Linked DNA regions of Homo sapiens: region 1 is linked to region 2. Evidence: promoter capture Hi-C in human tissues and cell types (Jung and others, 2019). All regions are on one chromosome and are shown on one strand. Each heading gives the region's core, a stretch centred on a gene start or on the middle of the fragment in contact. The rest is flanking DNA. Distances are from core to core; before and after follow the strand shown.

Region 1 (4,881 bases), core at 1,637-4,136, 1.0 Mb after region 2:
CTGCCAGCAGTCCAGCAGTCTACCCCCTGCCGACTGTCATTGCAGACAGAGCCTTGGCAACACAGAGCCAGAAAGCCTCAACCCCACCAGCACCCCACCCTTGCACTAACACTGCTCAGAACAGTGGATTCTCCCTCACCCTGAGCAATCACTTCTGCTTGCAGGGCACAGAGAAGGCACCCAGACCTGTATCCATGAGCACCCCACTTCCAAGTCAACGCCACCTCCAGCATGACCACACCCATAGTCTCCTACCCCACCCCCAGCAGCATTGTTTCTGCCACTGTGGTGAATGCCCTCAGGAAGGCAGGCACCCTGACACCCACTAGCACTCTGCCACAGCTACCGCACCTCCACTCCTTCCACCCACAGTTCAGTGGATTTCAGACTTCAAGAGACATAGAAACAAAGTTGGGGTCCAGTACAAGTCCCCAAGACTTACAGCATGCAGTCCAGGAGTTGGGAGCTGAGTGTTGGCCCCCTAAAATCTTCCAGAAATGAAGCTGGCTGAATTCACCTTATACCACAATCAAACCCTCAAGGTCATCAGATAGGATAAAAGAAAAAAAAATCTAAAGGTCAGAAACTTCAAAGATTGAAGATAGATAACCCCACAAAGATGAGGAAGAATCAGCATAAGATTCCTGAAAACTCAAAAAGCCAGAGTGCCATCCTTTCTCCAAATGACCATATCTCCTCTCCAGCAAGGGTTTTGAACGAGGTTGAGGTGGCTGAAATGACAAATAGAATTCAGAATATGGATAGCAATGAAGATCACTGAGGTACAAGAGTATGTTGAAACCCAATGCAAGGAAGATGAAAATCATGATAAAACAATGTAGGAGCTGACAGACAAAACAGCCAGTACAGAAAAGAATGTGACTGACCTAACAGAGCTGAAAAACACACTATAAAAATTTCATAAGGCAATCACAAGTATTAATAGCAGTATAGACCAAGTGGAGGAAAGATCGCAGAGCTTGCAGGCTGGCTTTCTGAAATAAGGCAGTTACACAACAATAGACAAAGAAGAATTGTAAAGGAATGAACGAAACCTTCAAGAAATATGGGATTATGTAAAGAGGCTGAATCTACGACTCATTGGTGTCCCTGTAAGAGATGGGAAGAACGCAGCCAACGTGGAAAACATATTTCAAGACAACATGCATGAGTAGTTCCCCAATCTAGCTAGAGAGGCAAACATTCAAATTCAGGAAATGCAGAAAACCCCAGTAAGATACTTCACAGAAGATCATCCTCAAGACACATAATCATCAGATTCTTCAAGGTTAAAATGAAAGGAAAAGAATGTTAAAGGCATCTAGAGAGAAAGGTCACTTACAAAGGGAAGCCCATCGGACTAACAGCAGACCTCTCAGCAGAAACCCAACAAGCCAGAAGAGATTGAGGATCAACATTCAACATTCTTAAAGAAATTACAATGCAGAATTTCATATCCACCCAAACTAAGCTTCATAAGTGAAGGAGAAATAAGACCTTTTTCAGCCAAACAAATGCTGAGGGAAATCATTACCACCAGACCTGCCTTACAAGAGCTCCTGAAGGAAGCACTACATATGAAAAGGAGACTGTTACCAGACACTTTAAAAACACACTAAAATACACAGACCAGTGAAACTATAAAGCAACCACATAAACAAGTCTGCAAAATAACCAGCTAACATCATGATGACAAGATCAAATCCACACATATCTATACTAACCTTAAATGTAAATGGGCTAAATGCCTTAATTAAAAGACAGAGAATAGCAAGGTGGATAAAGAACCCAGACCCACTGGTATACTGTCTACAGGAGACCCATCTCACATGCAATGACACACAGCTTTAAAATAAAGGGATGGAAGAAAATCTACCAAGCAAATGGAAACCAGAAAAAAGCAGGGATTGCAATTCTAGTTTCTGACAAAGCAGACTTTATACCAAAAAAGATAAAAAAGTAACGAAGGGCATTACATAACGGTAAAGGGTTCAATTCAATAAGAAAATCTAACTATCCAAAACATATATGCACCCAATACAGGAGCACCCATATTAATAAAGCAAGTTCTTAAAGACCTTCAAAGAGACTTAGATTCCCACACAATAATAGTGGGAAAATTTAACACCCCACTGACAATATTAGGCAGATTGTTGAGACAGAAAATTAACAGATATTCAGGACCTGAACTTAGCACTGGACCAAATGGACCTGAGAGATATATACACAACTCTCTACTCCAAAACAACAGAATATACATTCTTCTTATAGTTACACGGCACATATTCTAAAATTGATCACCTATTCAGAAGTAAAACACTCCTCAGCAAATGCAAAAAAACTGAAATTATAACAAACAATCTCTCAGACCCCAGAACAATCAAATTAGAAGTCAAGACTAGGAAATTCACTCAGAACCATGCAATTTCATGGAATATTGAATAACTTGCTTCTAAATGACTTTTGTGTAAATACTGAATTTAAGACAGAAATCAACAAGTTCTTTGAAACTAATAAAAAGAAAGTTACATCATACCAGAATCTCTGGGACACAGCTAAGGCAGTGTTAAGAGGGAAATTTATAGCACTAAATGCCCACATCAAAAAGTTAGAAATTTCTCAAGTTAACTTAACATCACAATTAAAGAACTAGAGAACCAAGAGCAAACAAATTCCAAAGCTAGCAGCAGACAAGAAAAACCCAAAATCAGAGCTGAACTGAAGAAGATAGAGATATTAAAAACCATTCAAAAGACTAATGAATCCAGGAGCTGTTTTTTTAAATGAATAAAATAGTTAGACTTCTAGCTAGATTAATAAAGAGGAAAACAGAGATTCAAATAAACACAACCAGAAACAACAAAGGGGAGATTACCACTGACCACAGAGAAATACAAATAACCATCACAGACTATTATGAATACCTCTATTTACACAAACCATAAAGTCTAGAAGAAATGAATAAATTCCTGGATATGCATAGCCTCCTAAGACTCAACCAGGAAGAAACTGAATCCCTGAACAGACCAATAATTAGCTTTAAAATTGAGTCAGTAATAAATAGCCTACCAACAAAAAAAGCCCAAGACCACATGGATTCACAGATGAATTCTACCAGATATACAAAGAAAAGCTGGTACCATTCATGCTGAAACTACTCCAAAAAATTGAAGAGAAGGAATTCCTCCCTAACTTATGCTACAAAACTAGCATCACACTGCTACCAAAACCTGACAGAGACACAACAACAACAAAAATTTCAGGCAAATACTCTTGATGAACATTGATGCAAAGTACTCAACAAAATACTTGCAAACCAAATCCAGAAGCACATCAAAAAGCTTATCCACCATGATCAATTTGGCTTTATCCCTGGGATGCAAGGTTGGTTCAACATCTGCAAATCAATAAATGTGATTCATCACATAAACACCAGTAAAGACAAAAACCACATGATTATCTCAATAGATGCAGAAAAGGCTTTTGATAAAATCCCATATCCCTTCATGTTAAAAACTGTCAATAATCTAGGTATTGAAGGAACATACCTCAAAGTAATAAGAGCCACCTATAACAAACCCACAGCCAACATCATACTGAATGGGCAAAAGCTGGAAGCAATCCCCTTGAAAACTGGAATAAGACAAGAATACCCTTTCTTATCACTCCTATTCAACATGGTATTGGAAGTCCTGGTCAGGACAATCAGGCAAGAGAAAGAAATAAAGGCATCCCAGTAGGAAGAAAGGAAGTCAAACTATCCCTGTTTGCAGACAACATGATCCTATAGCTAGAAAACCCCACAGTCTCAGCCCAAAAGCTTTTTAAGCTGATAACTTCAGCAAAGCCTCAGGATACAAAATCAATGTGCAAAAGTCAGTAATATTCTTATACACCAACAACAGTCAAGCCAAGATCCAAATCAGGAATGCAATCTCATTTAAAATTGCCACAAAAATAATAAAATACCTAAGAATACAGCTAACCAAGAAGGTAAAAGATCTCTACAAGGAGAACTACAAAACATGGCTCAAAGAAACCAGAGATGACACAAACAAATGGAAAAACATTCTTTGCTCATGGATAGGAAGAATCAATATTGTAAAAATGGTCATACTGCCCAAAATGATTAATAGATTCAATACCATTCCTATTACACTACCATTCAAATTCTTCACAGAACTAGAAAAACACTATTTTACAATTCACATAGAAACAAAAAAGAGCCCTAATAGCCAAGGCAATCCTAATAGCCAAGTCAATCATAAGCAAAAAGAACAAAGCTACAGTCATTGTGCTACTTGACTTCAAACTATATTACAGACCTTTGGTAAACAAAATATCATAGTATTGGTACAAAAACAGACACATAGACCAATGGAACAGAATAAAGAATGCAGCAATAAGGCTGCACATCTACAACTAGCTGATCTTTGACAAACCTGATAAAAACAAGCAATGGGTAAAGGACTTCCTATTCAAAAAATGATGCTGGAATAACTGGCTAGCCATATGCAGAAGATTGAAACTGGACCCCTTCCTATACCATATACAAAAACTAACTCAAGATGGATCAAAGACTTAAATGTAAAGCCCAAAACTATAAAAACCCTGAAAGACAACCTAGGCAATACTATTCAGGACATAGGAATGAGCAAAGATTTCATGATGAAGATGCCAAAAGCAATTGCAACAAAACCACAAAATGACAAATGGGATCTAATTAAATAAAAGAGCTTCTGCACAGCAAAGGAAATTATCAATAGAATGAACAGACAACCTACAGAATGGGAGAACATATTTGCAAACTAGGTATCTGATAAAGGTGTAATAACCAGAATCCATAAGAAACCTAAAATAATTTACAAGAAAAAAACGAGC
Region 2 (4,962 bases), core at 2,003-4,502:
CCTGTAGTCTCAGCTACTTGGGTGGCTGAGGCAGGAGAATCTCTTGAACCCGGGAGGTGGAGGTTGCAGTGAGCTGAGATCGTGCCACTGCACTCCAGCCTGGGTGACAGAACAAGATTCCATCTCAAAAAAAAAAAAAAAAAAAAAAAAAAAAGAAAATGCAGCACATATATGCCATGAAATCTTTTGTAGCAACATAAATGCAGCTGGAGGCTATTATCTTAAGTGAATTAACATGGAAACAGAAAACCAAATGTTGTATGTTTTCACTGATAAATGGGAGCTGAACATTGGGTCCACATGGACATAAAGATGAGAAAAATAGCCACTGGAGACTATCAGAGGTGGGAGAGAGGAAGGGGAGAAGGTGCTGAAAAACTACCTACCGAGTACTATGCTCACTACCTGGGCGAAGGGATTATTCACACCTCAATCCTCAGTGTCACACAATGAACTCATGTAACAAACCTGCCTGCACAGGTAAGCTCTAAATCTAAAATAAAAGTTGAAATTATATAAAAGGTGAAGATAGCCATATAAATGAAATACTGATACATGCTACATAAATAAACCTTGAAAGTATTATGGTAAGTACAATAACCCAATCACGAAAGACAACATACTATATAATTCCATTAATATGAAGTGCCTAGAGCAGGCAAATCCATAGAGAAAAAAGTAAGTTAGTAGTTGCTGGGTGGAGGAGAAATAGAGATGACAGCTAATGAGAGGGATACAGGGTTTCTTTTCAAGATGATAAAACCACTATAAATTGAATGTGGTGATGGCTGCTCAACTCTATGAATATACAAAAACTTTTGAATTGTACATCTTAAATGGGTACATTCTATGATATGTGAATTATATCTCAATAAAGCTGTTAGCAAAAAAGGGTAATCTTAAAGTTTCTAACCATTATTACAGAAGTTTTTATTTCTCTCTGCTTCTGTCAGTGTTTATTTAGGAGCTGTGATATTTTGTGGCTGTGTGCTTATAGTTGTTATATCTTCTTGGTGATTTGACTGTTTTATCACTATCTAATGTTCTTTGTTGTCTCTTATAAAAGGTTTTGACTTGAGGTGTAACTTGTCTGGATATTACTATAACCATTCCAGCTCTCTTTTGGTTAATATTTGCAGGATTATCTCTTTTTATCCTTTTGATTTTAACCTATTTGCCTTTAGATCTAAAATGATTCTCTTATTGACAGCATACAGTTAGATTATATATTTTTAATCCATTATAAAAATGCGATTTTTGGGTCTCACTCTAAAACTTCTGAATAGAATCTGCATTTTAACAAGATTGTCGAAGTGGTTTGTAATGCATATCAAATTTTGAGAAACATGACTATATAGTATCTAGCACAAAGCCTTGAGAAACAGAAGGCACTACTTATCTAGAGGAAATTTTATCTTCCTAAATCCAAGATTATAAAAATAAAGTTTAAAATACACCTTAGTGCTGACAACATATTGTTTTTATCTGCTGTTAATAGCACAGTTTTAAAGTATTGTCAAAGGACCTCTGGCATCAGAATCACCTGGAGTGCATGTTAAAGATATCAGACACCTACCTAGGCCTTGCCCCACATGTACTGAATGATAATCTAAAGAAATGCACTGGAAAAAAATCTACATTTTAAACAAGCTCATTAGATGATTTTTTAAAAAAATTTACTCATTCTATAGATATATACTGTGCCAGGTACTGTTTTAAGCACTGAACAGCCTAGACATCTTTGCTGTCATAGAGCTTAGACTCCATTACAGGGAGAGTCACAATTTTAAAAAAAGGCATACATAAATAAGGAAAATTAGAGAGTGGTCAGTTTTTGGTATATAATTAAAACAGGGTAATTTTATGAAGAGTAATGTGGTATTTATATACATCTGGTCAGAGAAAGCCCCTTGTAGAAGATAATGTTTAAGCTGCAATCTGAATTATAAAAGGAGGTTGCTATATAAAGATCAAAAAGACTATCCCAGGCAGAAGGAATACTATTTAGATAGTAGAGAAAAGTGCACTGAGACAAAGCGACACAAGGTCAAAGCAATTTGTGAGCCAGTTGGCAGGTCCTCACTGTATGGAAAGCTACAGGTTGACTATGATGGCTGCCCCCATGTTCCTCTCTGTTACCCAATGTTTCAAAAGGAAGATAAATTTAACTTGAAACTTGTCAAGTTTGAGATATTTGTGAGATAATCAGGTAGTAATATCCAGCACTAAGTAGATAACATGAGAGAAGAACTCTGAACATCTTAATTGCTCTACACAAAATCTATCAGTCAGCCAATTCTTACTTATTGACAGCTGTGTGGATGCTATCATGGCAAGTACTATGGAACATACAAGAAAATGTAAAAATAGACAGAATATTTTATTTATAAGGACTTTTGCCTTAAAAAATATTTCTAGGTTCATGTACCAAGATGGAAATCATAGGACAAAATACCCATGTGAGAAGAAATCATGAGATGCACTTAACGTTCAAGCATCCTTGGTAAGAATAATCTGACAAATAGCTAAGATATACTGGTTGGATGGAAAACATGGGATCTTTGGTTAGATGAAAGAAGATATGGCTGGGCGCAGTGGCTCATGCCTGTAATCCCAGCACTTTGGGAGGCCAAGGCGGCTGGATCATCTGAGGTCAGGAGTTCGAGACCAGCCTGTCCAACAAGGTGAAACCCCATCTCTACTAAAAATAAAAAAATTAGCTGGGCATGGTGCTGGGCACCTGCAATCCCAGCTACTCAGAAGGCTGAGCCAGGAAAATCTCTTGAACCCTGGAGGCGGAGGTTGCAGTGAGCCAACATCGTGCCACTGCACTCCAGCCTGGGTGACAGAGTGAGACCCTGTCACAGGGAAAGAAAGAAAGAAGATATGAATTGTATGGATGCTTTAAAATGACCAAAATAATAGTAGGATGATCATTTCTGACTATGAAAAAGTTTCATACACACACATTTTTGTTTCCATCTTTACCACAAACTATTCTTTCTAAGATGGAGAAGTGTTTTATATTCTTCACAAGCTTCAATTGTTTTCATAATCTCTAATACTTTTGCTTTGACTTACTTTAATTCCTTAGATGCTGTTTTGAGTGGGCCCCATCCAGTCAGTTGAAGTCCTTAAGAGAAAAGACTGAAGTCTTCTGAAGAGGATAGGATAAAGCTTTCAGATACAAGGTATCAATTTTTTGCCAGAATTTCCAGCCTTCTAGTCTGGCTTGTGGATTTTGGAAGTGCCAGTCACCACAATTACATGAGCGTGTTTTCTCTTTCTCTCTCTACATACACACACACACACACACACACACACACACACACACACGGCCTATTGATTCTATTTCTCTAGGGGAACCTAATATACCTGGCAAGACAGACGTTATGTGATGAATAGTACAAAGAGTGACTATTCTAGTATCTAAGAAGACTGAGGAAGAACATTGTGATCTAAAATGGTTTCGCCCACAGATGAGGATGGCCCTGAGGTTAGTTTCTGGAGGAAGGCTAAGGTTTCAGTAAGTAGAAAAATGTGGAGGAGGAACAAGGGCATAGTTTTAGGAATGCAAGGTGAATTATCTCATGGTAGAGAAATGAGAACGGTTTGGATAGGATGGACTGTTCATGCAGAAATGGAGAGAGAGATAAGGTACATACGATTGTAAAAGGCACTGAACCAATTTTTAGGACAACTTTTATAATTTTCTGGAATGAAAGAGACAAAGCCATTGGTATTTGGTACAATTAACCTGATTATTTGACATTACAGCCATGGATATACTGGAAGGACTTGGGGAAACACAAGATTTAAGTAGACTCATTAAAATCTAGTTTGATAGCAGTAAGTAAGACTATTTGAGAGGTATTTTTAAGGCGGTAGGTAGGTAAAGAGGACAAGGAAGAAGAAATAAAAAAAATATAAGTTCAGCGATCAAACTTTTAAAAGTTGTAACAAAAGAGTAGTAAAGATGGTAATAGAGAAGTTATGAGACAGAATTGGTTTTGGGGAAATGGTAACATTCAGTTTAAATATGCAAATTTGGGTTGATATTGGTGTCCAAGTGAAAATATCTGGCAAACAGATGTAAATGTGGCACTAATAATTAGGAAAATTGCCAACCTAGAGATAAACTTGCAATTGTCATATGCACAGAAGGAATAATTAATTTTGCTTTAAAAATCTCATGATGTCATCTAAATGCACAGAAGTGGTGTAATGTAGCTAAAAGTGTTACTTCTAGAGCAGAGCCATCCAACAGAACTTTCTGCAATAATTGAGATATTCTCCACACATCCAATATCCTAGCCGCTACACATATGTGGCTATTGAGCGCTTTTAATGTGCCTAGTGAGGGAGCTGAATTTTGAGTTTTATATAATTTTAATTAATTTATTTTATTTATTCAGCTTTAATATGTATAATTGACAAATACTATTGTCTATATTTAAGGTTTACAACATGATGATGTGATATACATATACATTGTGAAATGATTACTGCAATGAGCACATCCATCACTTCACATATTTACGTGTTTGTGTGTGTGCGTGTCTGGTGAGAACGCTTAAGATCTACTCTCTTAGCAAATTTCAAATATACAATACAGAATTATTAACTGTAGTCACCATCCTGTACCCATCTTATAACTGGAAGTTTGTACCCTTTGACCAACATCTCCCCATTTCCTCCACCTCCTAGTCTCTGGTAACCACCATGCTACTGTCTGCTTCTAGGAGTTTGACTTTTTTTGGATTTCACACATATCTCTGGCTTATTTCACACAACATAATGTCTTCCAGTTCCATCCACGTTGTCACAAATGACAAAGTTCCCTTCTTTTTTATGACTGAATAATATTGCTTTTCTTTATCGATTCATGTGTCAATGGACACTTTGGTTGTTTCCATATATTGGCTGGTGAGAATAATGCCGCAATGGACAGGGGAGTGCAGA

The links. The method cuts DNA at HindIII sites, captures the fragments that hold promoters and counts their contacts. A contact is called where the count stands out against the background at its distance.
Region 1: a contact is called between a fragment that was not itself captured here and the fragment with the promoter of ABCB5 in region 2, in 1 of the 25 tissues and cell types used here (pancreas).

What each region holds. Positions count from the first base shown.
Region 1 is chr7:19,590,847-19,595,727 of GRCh38, reverse strand. All of the region lies in intron 3 of LOC105375180 (a long non-coding RNA gene), which reads right to left. Among named protein-coding and RNA genes, the nearest start is that of MIR3146, 110 kb to the left of the region's middle. The HindIII fragment of the contact is 4,832 bases long and covers 471-4,881 here.
Region 2 is chr7:20,613,957-20,618,918 of GRCh38, reverse strand. It overlaps ABCB5 (ATP binding cassette subfamily B member 5), which reads right to left and starts at 3,252. Exons shown (of 28, transcript NM_001163941.2): 1 at 3,082-3,252. The HindIII fragment of the contact is 19,814 bases long and covers 1-4,962 here.